Linked DNA regions of Homo sapiens: regions 2, 3 and 4 are each linked to region 1. Evidence: promoter capture Hi-C in human tissues and cell types (Jung and others, 2019). All regions are on one chromosome and are shown on one strand. Each heading gives the region's core, a stretch centred on a gene start or on the middle of the fragment in contact. The rest is flanking DNA. Distances are from core to core; before and after follow the strand shown. Region 1 holds the start of PTX4 (pentraxin 4). Region 2 has its middle 3.1 kb from the start of MEIOB. Region 3 overlaps MEIOB (meiosis specific with OB-fold). Region 4 overlaps MEIOB (meiosis specific with OB-fold).

Evidence for each region. The method cuts DNA at HindIII sites, captures the fragments that hold promoters and counts their contacts. A contact is called where the count stands out against the background at its distance.
Region 2: a fragment that was not itself captured here is called in contact with the fragment with the promoter of PTX4 in region 1 in 2 of the 25 tissues and cell types used here (dorsolateral prefrontal cortex and spleen).
Region 3: a contact is called between a fragment that was not itself captured here and the fragment with the promoter of PTX4 in region 1, in 4 of the 25 tissues and cell types used here (dorsolateral prefrontal cortex, lymphoblastoid cells, spleen and 1 more).
Region 4: a contact is called between a fragment that was not itself captured here and the fragment with the promoter of PTX4 in region 1, in 3 of the 25 tissues and cell types used here (dorsolateral prefrontal cortex, lymphoblastoid cells and spleen).

What each region holds. Positions count from the first base shown.
Region 1 is chr16:1,487,582-1,490,448 of GRCh38, forward strand. It overlaps PTX4 (pentraxin 4), which reads right to left and starts at 1,363. Exons shown (of 3, transcript NM_001328608.2): 1 at 1,188-1,363; 2 at 1-389. The coding sequence starts at 1,328. The HindIII fragment of the contact is 5,905 bases long and covers 732-2,867 here.
Region 2 is chr16:1,873,790-1,876,656 of GRCh38, forward strand. No RefSeq gene overlaps it. Among named protein-coding and RNA genes, the nearest start is that of MEIOB, 3.1 kb to the left of the region's middle. The HindIII fragment of the contact is 5,420 bases long and covers 1-2,867 here.
Region 3 is chr16:1,851,095-1,853,961 of GRCh38, forward strand. It overlaps MEIOB (meiosis specific with OB-fold), which reads right to left. Exons shown (of 14, transcript NM_001163560.3): 8 at 2,125-2,177; 9 at 1,945-2,040. Among named protein-coding and RNA genes, the nearest start is that of MEIOB, 20 kb to the right of the region's middle. The HindIII fragment of the contact is 5,559 bases long and covers 1-2,867 here.
Region 4 is chr16:1,832,705-1,835,571 of GRCh38, forward strand. It overlaps MEIOB (meiosis specific with OB-fold), which reads right to left. Exons shown (of 14, transcript NM_001163560.3): 14 at 1,282-1,662. The coding sequence ends at 1,552. It also overlaps a transcript of FAHD1 not described here. Among named protein-coding and RNA genes, the nearest start is that of FAHD1, 6.9 kb to the left of the region's middle. RefSeq lists a silencer at 144-438. The HindIII fragment of the contact is 8,140 bases long and covers 1-2,867 here.

The sequences.
Region 1 (2,867 bases), core at 113-2,612:
ACGGGCAGCCGCCCCTCCAGAGCAGCCAGCCTGGCGCCCTGGCTGTGGACGAGGCCCTCCAGGCGTGCCAGTGAGTCCTGCAGGGCGTCCCTCTGGGCCTTGTGTGCCTTCCTTTCCCGGGCCCGCTGCTGGCTCCTCTCGCCCAGGGTGAGGTCCAAGGCCCGCAGCCGCGTGTCTACTTTCCGGCCTCGGCGCTGCAGCTTCCTCACCCAGGCCTTGAGCTGCGCCAGCTCCCCCTGCACCGAGGCCTGTGACCGGTTGACTGCCTGAGCCACAGCCTGGCTCTCTTCCGCCAGGCTCCGGAACCGGACGTCAACGTTGTAGGACACGTTGTAGTTGCTGGCGATGTTCTGCAGGTGTGTCCAGGTCACCTCCTGGAATCTCCGGAACTGTAAGGAGGACACGGTGATGATGGGGCGGGCCGGGCCGGGCCGGCTGGGCGGGACGGGAAAGGCTTTGCCCTCTCAAGTTGGGAGCAGCGGCCGCGTGCCCGGGCCACGGCCAGCACTGGCTATCTGCCCACCGATTTGATCCCCACTGCGATGCCGTGAGATGTGGTGGGTGCCAGGGACTGACCCCAGGCCATGCAGCTGCACCACGTGGGGTGTGGACTCCAGGCCCACAGCTGGGGCTCTGATCCCCACCGCTCACCCCATAACCACCGGCAAGTCACTTTCCCTCGTGATTCCAGCTCCTGCCTGTGAGCAGGGGACGGCAGGGTGGCCTCATGAGTGCTTTACGAGGCCCAAACAGGAAGCACCCAGCGCAGGCCCGACAGGCCCACAGCACTCCGGAACTGTCCGTGGACCCCGCGTGGGAGTCCGGGAGGCCGTTCACACCGACTGCCACAAGGTGGACCTGTGACCTCCCAGTTTCCACTCCCCATGACACTACCCGGCCCCCATGGCCCCCAGTTCCCCTGACTCCCTTCCAGACCCCCTTCTAGCCTCTGGCCCCACCTGACCCCCACATGTTATGAGGCTTGTGTCCTGTGTGAGTGGAGCCCAGCTCAGCTCTTCCCTGGTGTCCAACTGCAGGTGAAATAATCTTCATGGATGGAAAGAGCGTCACACGCGGTGTTCGTGTCCGCCAAGCCCTGATGTTTACCAATCTGCTTCTGTAACATCCGTCTTCCATCTGCTGCCAATTTAAAAACCCGACTGCGCCATGTCAGGGGTATAACTTGCCTGTTCCTCCAGCCTACGGAGCCTCTCGAAAAACGGTTTCCTGGGCCCCACTGGGGCGGCTTCCTGCGATGAAGCCCCATGTAGATATATAGGCACAAAAACAAGGAAGAAAGACAAGGTCTTCCTCCACGAGCAACCCATCCGGAGAGACGGCAAGGCCCCAGCAGTCTCCCTCCAGCCGCAGGAGAGGGTGAAGGTGGCTCCGTGGGTCTGTCTTGTGTCTCGTCCCCCCAGCTCTCCTGTTGAGTGGTTTTCCTTCTTTGGCCCTGGCTGGATGTCAGGTTCTTCCTGCCGCCTCCATGAAAGGCATCTGCCTTCAAGCCAGTGGGCTCTGAGACTTGCAGGTTCCTAAGGAGACAAGCTTAAAACAGATGCAAACAGTTTCTTTGAAGAATCATTCAGCTGGGTGCAAGCCCGCGGGCAGGAGGCGATGGCTTTAACAGGAGCACATGGACTTGTGCTCCCGAGAAGTCGAAGCAAGACAGGGAACCCGACGGGGGCTGGGGAGTCAACAGAGCCAGGTCTGCACAGGCACCCATCACCCAGGCCGTGCACGGCTGCATCCTGGGAGGCCCCGTCTCTCTCAGTAAAGCAATGGAAATGTGACTGGGAGCCACCTTAATTAATTAATTATTATTATTATTTGAGATGGAGTCTCGTTCTGTTGCCTAGGCTAGAGTGCAATGGCGCAATCTCAGCTCACTGCAACCTCTGCCTCCCCGGCTCAAGCGATTCTCCTTCCTCAGCCTCCTGCCTCCTGAGGAGCTGGGATTACAGGCGTGCTTTACCATGCCCGGCTAATTTTAGTATTTTTAGTAGAGATGGGGTTTCACTATGTTGGTCAGGCTGGTCTCAAACTTCTGACCTCATGATTTGCCTGCCTCAGCCTCCCTAAGTGTTCGGATTACAGGCATGAGCCACTGCGCCTGGCCAATTAATTAATTTTTTTGACGGAGTCTTGCTCTGTCACCCAGGCTGGAGTGCAGTGGTGCGATCTCCGCTCACCACAAGCTCCGCCTCCTGGGTTTAACGGATTCTCCTGTCTCAGCCTCCCAAGTAGCTGGGATTACAGGTATGTGCCCCCACATCCGGCTAATTTTTGTATTTTTAGTAGAGACGGGGTTTCACCATGTGGGCCAGGCTGGTCTCAAACTCCCGACCTCAGGTGATCCACCCGCTGTAGCCTCCCGAAATGCTGGGATTACAGGCATGAGCCACCGCGCCCGGCCAATTTTTGTATTTGTAGTAGAGACGGGGTTGCCCCATGTGGGCCAGGCTGGTATTTTTGGTTACAGGTTGTGTACTGGCTTGAATGAGACCCTCCTAAAAACACACATAAGCCCCAGGCAGGGCCTTATGTGGAAAAGGTCTCTGCGGATGTCATGAAGGATTTTGAGATGAGACCATCCTGGATTATCCAGGTGGCCCTAAAGCCAATGACAGGGGTACAAGAGACAGAGGAGGAGGCACAGAGGACACGGCCTGTGAAGATGGGGCAGAGACTGGGGTGACGCTGCCACGAGGAACCCCCAGAGGCCCCAGAAGCTGGAAGAGGTAAAGTGGGAACCCCCAGCCCAGAGCCTTCGAGGGAGTGTGCACCTTCACTTCAAGACTTCCAGCCCCCAGAACTGTGATAGGACTCATTTCTGTTGTTTCAAGCCGCCCAGCTCATGGGAATAA
Region 2 (2,867 bases), core at 189-2,688, 390 kb after region 1:
TACCTGCATTTCACCATTTCAAATATAATGGGAAGAGTTGGGTTTTTAAATCGTCCCTATTCCTTTCCAGTCTCTGCCTTTAAAAGAAGATATTTTTGGCCGGGGTTGGTAGCTCATGCCTGTAATCCCAGCACTTTGGGAGGCTGAGGAGGGCAGATTGCCTGAGCTCAGGCGTTCGAGGCCAGACTGGCCCAACGTGGTGAAACCCCATCTCTACTAAAAATACAAAAATTAGCCAGGCATGGTGGCGGGAGCCTGTAATCCCAGCTACTCGGGAGGCTGAGGCAGGAGAATCGCTTAAACCTGGGAGGCAAAGGTTGCAGTGAGCCAAGATTACGCCACTGCACTCCAGCCTGGGTGACAGATGGAGACTCCATCTCAAAAAAAAAAAAAAAAAAAAAACAAAAAAAAAAAACCTATCTTTATCTTTCCAAAAGAATAAACTAGTGGCCGGGGGCAGTGGCTCACGTCTGTAATCCCAGCACTTTGGGAGGCCAAGGTGGGCGGATTGCCTGAGCTCAGGAGTTGGCCACCAGCCTGGGCAACACGGTGAAACCCCATCTCTACTAAAACACAAAAAATTAGCCAGGCGTGGTGGCATGCGCCTTTAGTCCCAGCTACTCGGGAGGCTGAGGCAGGAGAATTGCTTGAACCCAGGAGGTGGAGGTTGCATTGAACCAAGATCGGGCCACTGCACTCCAGCCTGGGCAACAGAGAGAGACTCTGTCTCAAAAAAAAAAACACAAAATAACAAAATAAAATAAACTAGCATTTTAAGTCCATCTTAAAGGAGAGGAAAAAATATAAAAATAGTTTTCATGCATTTTTCATTTGAGCCTCAGTGAAGCAATAATATTCTAAAATTTTTTAAATTTTGTCACGTTTTAGTAAATTAATTTTTGCAGAAAGCTACATAAGGTTAAGCAAACAGTGTCAGCCTTGCCAGGACACAACAGGCTTCTCATAAGCCACGATGCTTCAAAATACAAGCCTAAAAGAGTGGAATTGCTTCACGCTCGTGAAATTAAGTCTCCCTTGTTGTGTACGGAATTTGTTTCTTCCATTTTTTATAGCAGTTCTGTGAAATTGGCTTGCTCTTAACAATAGGATTGACTTGTCAATATATTTTGGATGTACACGAACAGAAATAAGGACTAGAAATGCTAGCTTGCCCTTGCCGCTTGATGCAGAAGTCAAGGGTGAGCGAACAAGGGTCAGAGCTGAAATAGCTCACATGTCTGGCTAAAGAAACGGTAGTTGGCTACATGGTCAGCTCCCCAGAGCATGCCAGCTGTCAAAACATCTAGGAGCTGTCACAAAGGAGTGACAGGCAAAATATATAGTCATAAACTTTACACGTTCTAATCAGTAGAAACGTTGACAGTTATTTTAATGAATTACAAGATAGAAATTCATTAAAAATTGACAGTTATTTTAATGAATTACAAGATAAGCTTTTATTTATTTAACAAAACTATAACTTTTCCAGCATTGATCCCGTGACTATGGTCTTCCTCCCAGGAGCTGAAATACTAATAGATCAGTTACTGGCATAATTAGTCTCACCCCCACTCGTCACTCCATCAAAGGACTGATCATCTTTTTTGTTTTTCTCCCAAAACAGGGTCTCACTCTGTCACCCAGGCTGGAGTGCAGTGGCACGATCACAGTTCACTGCAGCCTCGACCTCCCTGGGCTCAGGTGATCCTCCCACCTCAGCCTCCCGTGGGACCGTAGGTGCACACCACCACGCCGGCTAAGTTTTGTATTTTTTTGTAGAGATGGGGTCTCGCTATATTGCCCAAGCTGGTCTTGAACTCCTGGACTCAAGCAATCTTCCTGCCTCAGCCTCCCAAAGCACTGGGATTATAGGCATGAACCACTGTGCCTGGCCTAATCATGTTTTAAATAGATTGTAGGCCAGGCGTGGTGGCTCACCCCTGTAATCCTAGCATTTTGACAGACTGAGGCGGGTGGATCACCTGAGGTCAGGAGTTCGAGACCAGCCTGGCCAAGATGGTGAAACCCCATCTCTACTAAAAATACAAAAATTAGCCGGCATGGTGGCACATGCCTGTAATCCCAGCTACTTGGGAGGCTGAGGCAGGAGAATCACTTGAACCCGAGAGGCGGAGGTTGCACTGAGCCAAGATTGCGCCATTGCACTGCAGCCTGGGCAACAAGAGTGAAACTCCATCTCAGAAAAAATAATAATAATAAATAAATAAATAAATAGGTTGTAGATACACTAACATTTACAGATTTTTTGTAAACTTTTGCAGAAGTTTATGTAGAGAAGAGGAGTGAGGTAACCTGCAAAAGGGACTGGAAGAACTAGATGTGGAAATCGTGTTTAGGGCCAAAAAGAAGCAATTTAAGAGCTACTGGAGGCCGGGCGTGGTGGCTCACACCTATAATCCCAGCACTTTGGGAGGCCAATGTGGGCGGATCACCTGAGGTCAGGAGCTGGATACCTACCTGGGCAACGTGGCGAAACCCCGTCTCTACTGAAAACACAAAAATGTATTGTGGTGGCAGGTGCCCGTAATCCCAGTTACTCGAGAGGCTGAAGCAGGAGAATTGCTTGAACCTGGGAGGTGGAGGTTGCAGTGAGCCGAGATCGCGCCACTGCGCTCCAGCCATTTGCAGCATTGCCAAGTATGTAAAGCTCAGCTCCTAAGCTCTTTTAAGACTCCGTCTCAAAAAAATAAATAAATAAATAAAAATTTTAAAAAAGGTTGAACGGTGAATTGAAACTGGAACTGAAAGCCTCAGGACAAGGTGAGAGGTGCTGAGCTGAAGTGAGTAACGTGCTGGGCTTGAAATAACTCAGCATCCGTAGTCCGTGCCCAGGGACCTGGAGTGGT
Region 3 (2,867 bases), core at 267-2,766, 360 kb after region 1:
TCAGATGCTGTCACCGCTCTGCTCCAAACCCCAGCCTGCTACCCCATCCAGAGCAGAAGCCAGTGCACTCTAACAGCCTCCGAGGCCTTCTTCCTGGGTGCCCCATCTCTTCTCAGAACAGCTCCTGCTGGCCTTGAACTCCTGGGCTCCAGCCACACCAGCCCCTGGGTGTTCCTCCCACACATAGGCACAGGGCTTTCCCTTGGTTATCCCTTTAGCCTCCTCATCAAGTCTTTGCTCAAACGTCACTCTCCCATGCAGCGTGCCCGACCACCTTGTGGCTCTCTAGGTCCTCCTGACTCTGTTCCACCTGTTCTCCTTAAATATTTCATAATTCACGGACATATTATCTTCATTATTTATTCTCTGTCTCTCCCTGCTGGAGGGTAAACTCCATGAGGGTGGAAATATTTATCCATTTTGTCGTTGCACCCCAGAACAGCACCCAGCATACAGCACATGCTCAGTAAATTAGTTCAGTGAAGAGCAATTCGGGGCATGCACATCTCCTCCCATGGTGCTGCCTTCAAGGAGACAACATCCATGTGTTGGATGTGCAAGATTCAGAGTACTCATATAAAAACCAGAGTCTCAGTATTTTACACCATTCCTCATAGTAATTCTATCTTTTAAAAATGCTGATAATGGTTTGGTCAAAAGCACACATTGCTTTATAATTCTGTCACTGCTGATGCTTTGTTACAGACCAGCAGCGTGAGCGTATGTTTTAAATGATACACTACATACTGTACTCATAGCTTCATGAGATGGCAAAGGATTGATTACTCCATTTCTTTAGCAGTACTGGCTTGACGGTTATGTCTGCACTATAAAGCACCCTGGGAATGCTCACAGGCACTAATCCCTCATCTCCCCAATCTGGCTTCCTTGATTTCATGCTGTAATAAACTGTAACTCCTTCAACAACCACTCCAGGGGATCATCTGGGCATTTAATGTGCAGTTATGAGCTAATGATACTACACAGAGAGTACTGTGTGCACGCATGCATGTGTTATCAATGTCCTAGCAGTAAAAGTTATTTGAATGTAGCAAAACTGAATTTACCTATTAGTCAATAATTTAGCATCCAAGCAATAAAATCGATCTCTCAAAAATTATCACAATGAATTATACTTTAAAATTAATCTGGTTTTTCACTTTTTTTTTTTTTTTTTTTTTTTTTTTGAGACGGAGTCTCGCTCTGTCGCCAGGCTGGAGCGCAGTGGTGCAATCTCGGCTCACTGCAACCTCCACCTCCTGGGTTGAAGTGATTCTCCTGCCTTAGCTTCCCGAGTAGCTGGTACTACAGGCGCACACTTTTACGCTCGGCTAATTTTTCTATTTTTAGTAGAAACAGGGTTTCACCATGTTGGCCAGGATGGTCTCAATCTCTTGACCTCGTGAGCAGCCCACCTTGGCCTCCCAAAGTGCTGGAATTACAGGTGTGAGCCACCGCGCCAGCCTTGTTTTTTTTTTAAGACGGGGTCTTGCTCTTGTGGCCTAGGCTGGAGTACAATGGCGCGATTTCAGCTCACTGCAATTTCTGCCTCCTGGGTTCAAGTGATTCTCCTGCCTCAGTCTCCCGAGTAGCTGGGATTACAGGCGCCCACCACCAAGCCCAGCTAATTTTTATATTTTTAGTAGAGACTGGGTTTCACCATGTTGGCCAGTCTGGTCTTGAACTCCTGACCTCAGGTGATCCACCTGCCTTGGCCTCCCAAAGTGCTGGGATTACAGGCATGAGCCACCACGTCCGACCTCACATTTCTTTAGTAAAGATATCAAAGTTCATTGTAAGTTTTTAAAAAAGTTATATAAAGCAATTTTTACTTCTAATTTGAATTAAATCCAGGCTGAATTTTCATTCTTAAATATACTGTATAAATATTGAAATGTGTTCAGTCATTTCCAAAGGGATAAAAGGTTTCACAAAGTTTTTTACCTGGATTAGTTGTAATAATGGTTTTTGAGATTACAGTTGCTGTCATGCAGTTCCGAAATTTGTCAAAATTTATTCTTACATCTGAGGCAAATATTACTGTTTGGGAAAAAAGCCATTTAAAATTATTACATGGGAGGATATAAATGACAAATATTGGACACAATCATTGAATGATAATACCTGTTTCTCGTGGCATCCAGCTCTGTGCAAGTAGAATGGATTCATTATCCCAACTGCATTTGTTTAAAAAGAAGTAATACAAATTGAATACACTAGAAAAAACTGATAGTGACATATTATTTACAACAATAAAAGAAAGCTTCAGTGGCTGGGGTCAGCCATCCCCAAGGTGGTCAAAGACCTCCTAGTCTTAAGCATGCCAGCTTCCTCCTAGGGAGAATTTAACAACTCCATGAGAGAACATTCCTTCAACACACACTCTCCTCTAGTAATACTCTGCTCTGCCAATTCTTAATTTATTTTTCCAACACTTAATCACTCCAGGCTAGTTAGAACTAAAGCCTGAAGACTTTAAACTCACACTTTCAGACCATGAAGGTGAGTGTCCCCCAGTGGATAAACTGCTCAGGGGCCTTGATGGGTTGAAGACATTTTTGAAATCAGTTCCTTTGGTACCCAGGCATCAGAGGTCTAGACAATGCCTTGTTGTACCTGGCAGTGCTTCAGGGTGCAGTCCCCACCCTGGCCCACGTGCCCCTGTGTCCTGCCCTGCTCCAGGATACTTCCCAGGAAGCACAGAGGGAAACTCTGGCTTGTTCCATGGGACCTAATAAAACATCATTTGTTACACGACAGAATTCAATAATAAAACTGGGCACGGTGGAGTCCCCCTAAGCAATTCCATGCCATCTAAAGACCTCATTTTAAGGTGGTATCCATAACAACTCAACATTCAAGAGTGA
Region 4 (2,867 bases), core at 94-2,593, 350 kb after region 1:
ACTCTTGCTGAACCAACAGTGGGAGCCAAGCCAGCACCAACCACGACACCCTCACTTCTCTCCTCTCCTTCCTTCCCTGTCCACCCTCCCCATTCACCTGGCTTCACAAACCCCCCAGTTCTCCCCAAGGGAGGATGGAAGGCCTGTTCTGCACAACTAGGTCAAGTCGTTCATTACCTTATCACCACAATTTGGACACTTAGGGGTGAACCTGCATCCCTCCTCTGTGGCTGCACATGGTAAAAGCCAGATAAAACATGACTGACGATGGTTTATCTCCCAACACCAGCCTTAGGAAACAGTTTCATATACTCACTTTTTCCTTTTTTTTCAATCCTGTGGTGGAGGGCATGTAGCCTTCTAAAGTACCAGGTCAAACCTCCCAGGCCGTGGGTCAACACTGACCTTAGCGGTGGGTCTTCACAGCTGGAGTCTGCGCCCTGAAGCAAGTGACTCTCAATGGTGTGCAGTTGAGCCGTTTACTTTGTGGCTGCTGCAAAGCAAACAGATAAAGTGGCAGCTGTCGTCCTCATGTCCTGAGTAGGTCCCCCTCAGAGTTCTGAGACCCAGGCATGCTCATGAACCTTTTGAAGTTGGTCTCCTCCCAGTTGATTCAGACTCAGTCATGTCAGCCCTGAGCCAGCAAGCCTCCACAAGCACTGGGCACTCCAGTGTGTCACCAGAGAAGACCAGGGACTAGAAGAGCCCCAGGTGCTCAAAGCAGTCGCACAGGATTGCCCACGACTTTGGCTATTCCCACCCAGCACCAAGAGCCCCTTGCCCTCATCCTGTCAGATCTGTCAGATGACGAGTCACCACCCAGCTCTCAGAAAGTAGTCTTTAGAGGTACTTTTTTTTTTTTTTTTTTTTTTTTTAAGACAGAGTCTCGCTCTGTCGCCCAGGCTGGAGTGCAGTGGCTGGATCTCAGCTCACTACAACCTCCTCATCCCAGGTTCAAGAGATTCTCCTGCCTCAGCCTCCCGAGTAGCTGGGACAACAGGCACGTGCCACCACACCCAGCTAATTTTTTGTATTTTTAGTAGAGATGGGGTTTCACTGTGTTAGCCAGGATGGTCTCGATCTCCTGACTGCCTTGGCATCCCAAAGTGCTGGGATTACAGGCATGAGCCACCGTGCCCAGCCCTTGAGGTCCTACTCTTTTTCCAGGGAACCAAGACAAATAATAAACTGGCTTAAGAAAATAAATCATTCACTCAGGATTAAGAAACTCACTCAAAGCCGTTCAACTACATGGAAAAGAAAATAAATCATTCAAATCTGTAGAAGATTAAATCTGTTTATTAATTCATGTAAACATTTTCCAACTTGGGAGGAGACAAGGCAAAGACAGTAGGAGGCCTTCTAAGAAGGGAGGTCAGATGAGAGAGGCCTTCAGACTCACCCAGACCACCTCCACCATAACAATTTCTAGAAACATGTTCACCACATGTAAACAAAATGCAATTTTCCCCATAATTTTCAAATTAATATTCCATTTTAAAGGGAGTTAAAACTCTTATACTTTTCCAGAGTTCAAAATGATAGACCGTTTTAAACATGTTTTTGTCCAGACAAGTTTCTGCTTGCCTCAGTAGGATCTGCAAGCTTGCACGAGAGTACACTAATTTTCAATCCACTCCTTGCTCTGTGTGATAGAACGAACTGCGAGGAGAAACAGAAAAAGAGACAAAAGGTTAATTTTTAAAATCCCCTTGTATATCAAGTTGAAAAATCAATGATCACGAATAGAGAACTGCAATGAAAGTTTTGTTTACAGATACTAATATAAACTTCCATTAGAGCTGTAAGATGATGGGAAGAGTTCCAGTCTCGGAGTACAGTTAATTTACAGGCCCAGCTTCTGACTGATTTTGTAAAAATTTTGTCACTTTTCATGCTATTTCTCTCAGGTAGGAAAGTTGGGATTAAAAGTCTAATGTGGCCGGGTGCTGGTGCAGTGGCTCACGCCTGTAATCCCAGCACTTTGGGAGGCCAAGGCGGGTGGATCACCTGAGGTCAGGAGTTCGAGACCAGCCTGGCTAACATGGTGAAACTCCCATTTCTACTAAAAATACAAAAAATTAGCCGGGCATGGTGGCACACACCTGTTATCCCAGCTACTCAGAAGGCTGAGGCAGGAGAATCCCTTGAACCCGGGAGGCAGAGGTTGCAGTGAGCAGAGATTGTGCCATTGCACTCCAGCTTGGGCAACTAGAGCGAAACTCTGTCCCCCCCACCCCCCCCCACTAAAAAAAATGTCTAATGCAGGGCTGGGTGAGGTGGCTCATGCCTGTAATCCCAGCACTTTGGGAGGCCAAGGCAGGTAGATCACTTGAGGCCTGAAGTTCAAGACCAGCCTGGCCAATAAAGTGAAACCCTGTCTCTACTAAAAATATAAAAATTAGCCAGGTGTGGTGGTGCACACCTGTGGTCCCAGCTACTCGGTGGCTGAGGCGGGAGGATCACTTGAGCCTGGGAAGGTTGAGGCTGCAGTAAGCTGTGATCGCACCACGTGCTCCAGCCTGTGTGACAGAGCGAGCAGAGTGAGACTGTGTCTCAAAAAAAAAAAAAAGTATAACATATGAAAAAGGGCTTAATGTGTGTTCAAACTACCAACTGTGATAGACTTTAAGCTGTAGCAGGGACTCAATCTGTGAGACTACAGGAATATGATGACATAATTTAATAATAGTCTTATTTTAATAGTCTTATTTTTTATAATTTATACAGCACTTTAACCAACATTTTATTTAATATAGAGTGGAAGGACATATCAACCACTTTAATTTCAAGACTGAGAGAAAAAAAAGTACCAACATCAGGGAAAACTGGGAAAGACTTTAAGTGGGCAATAACAATAAGTGGGT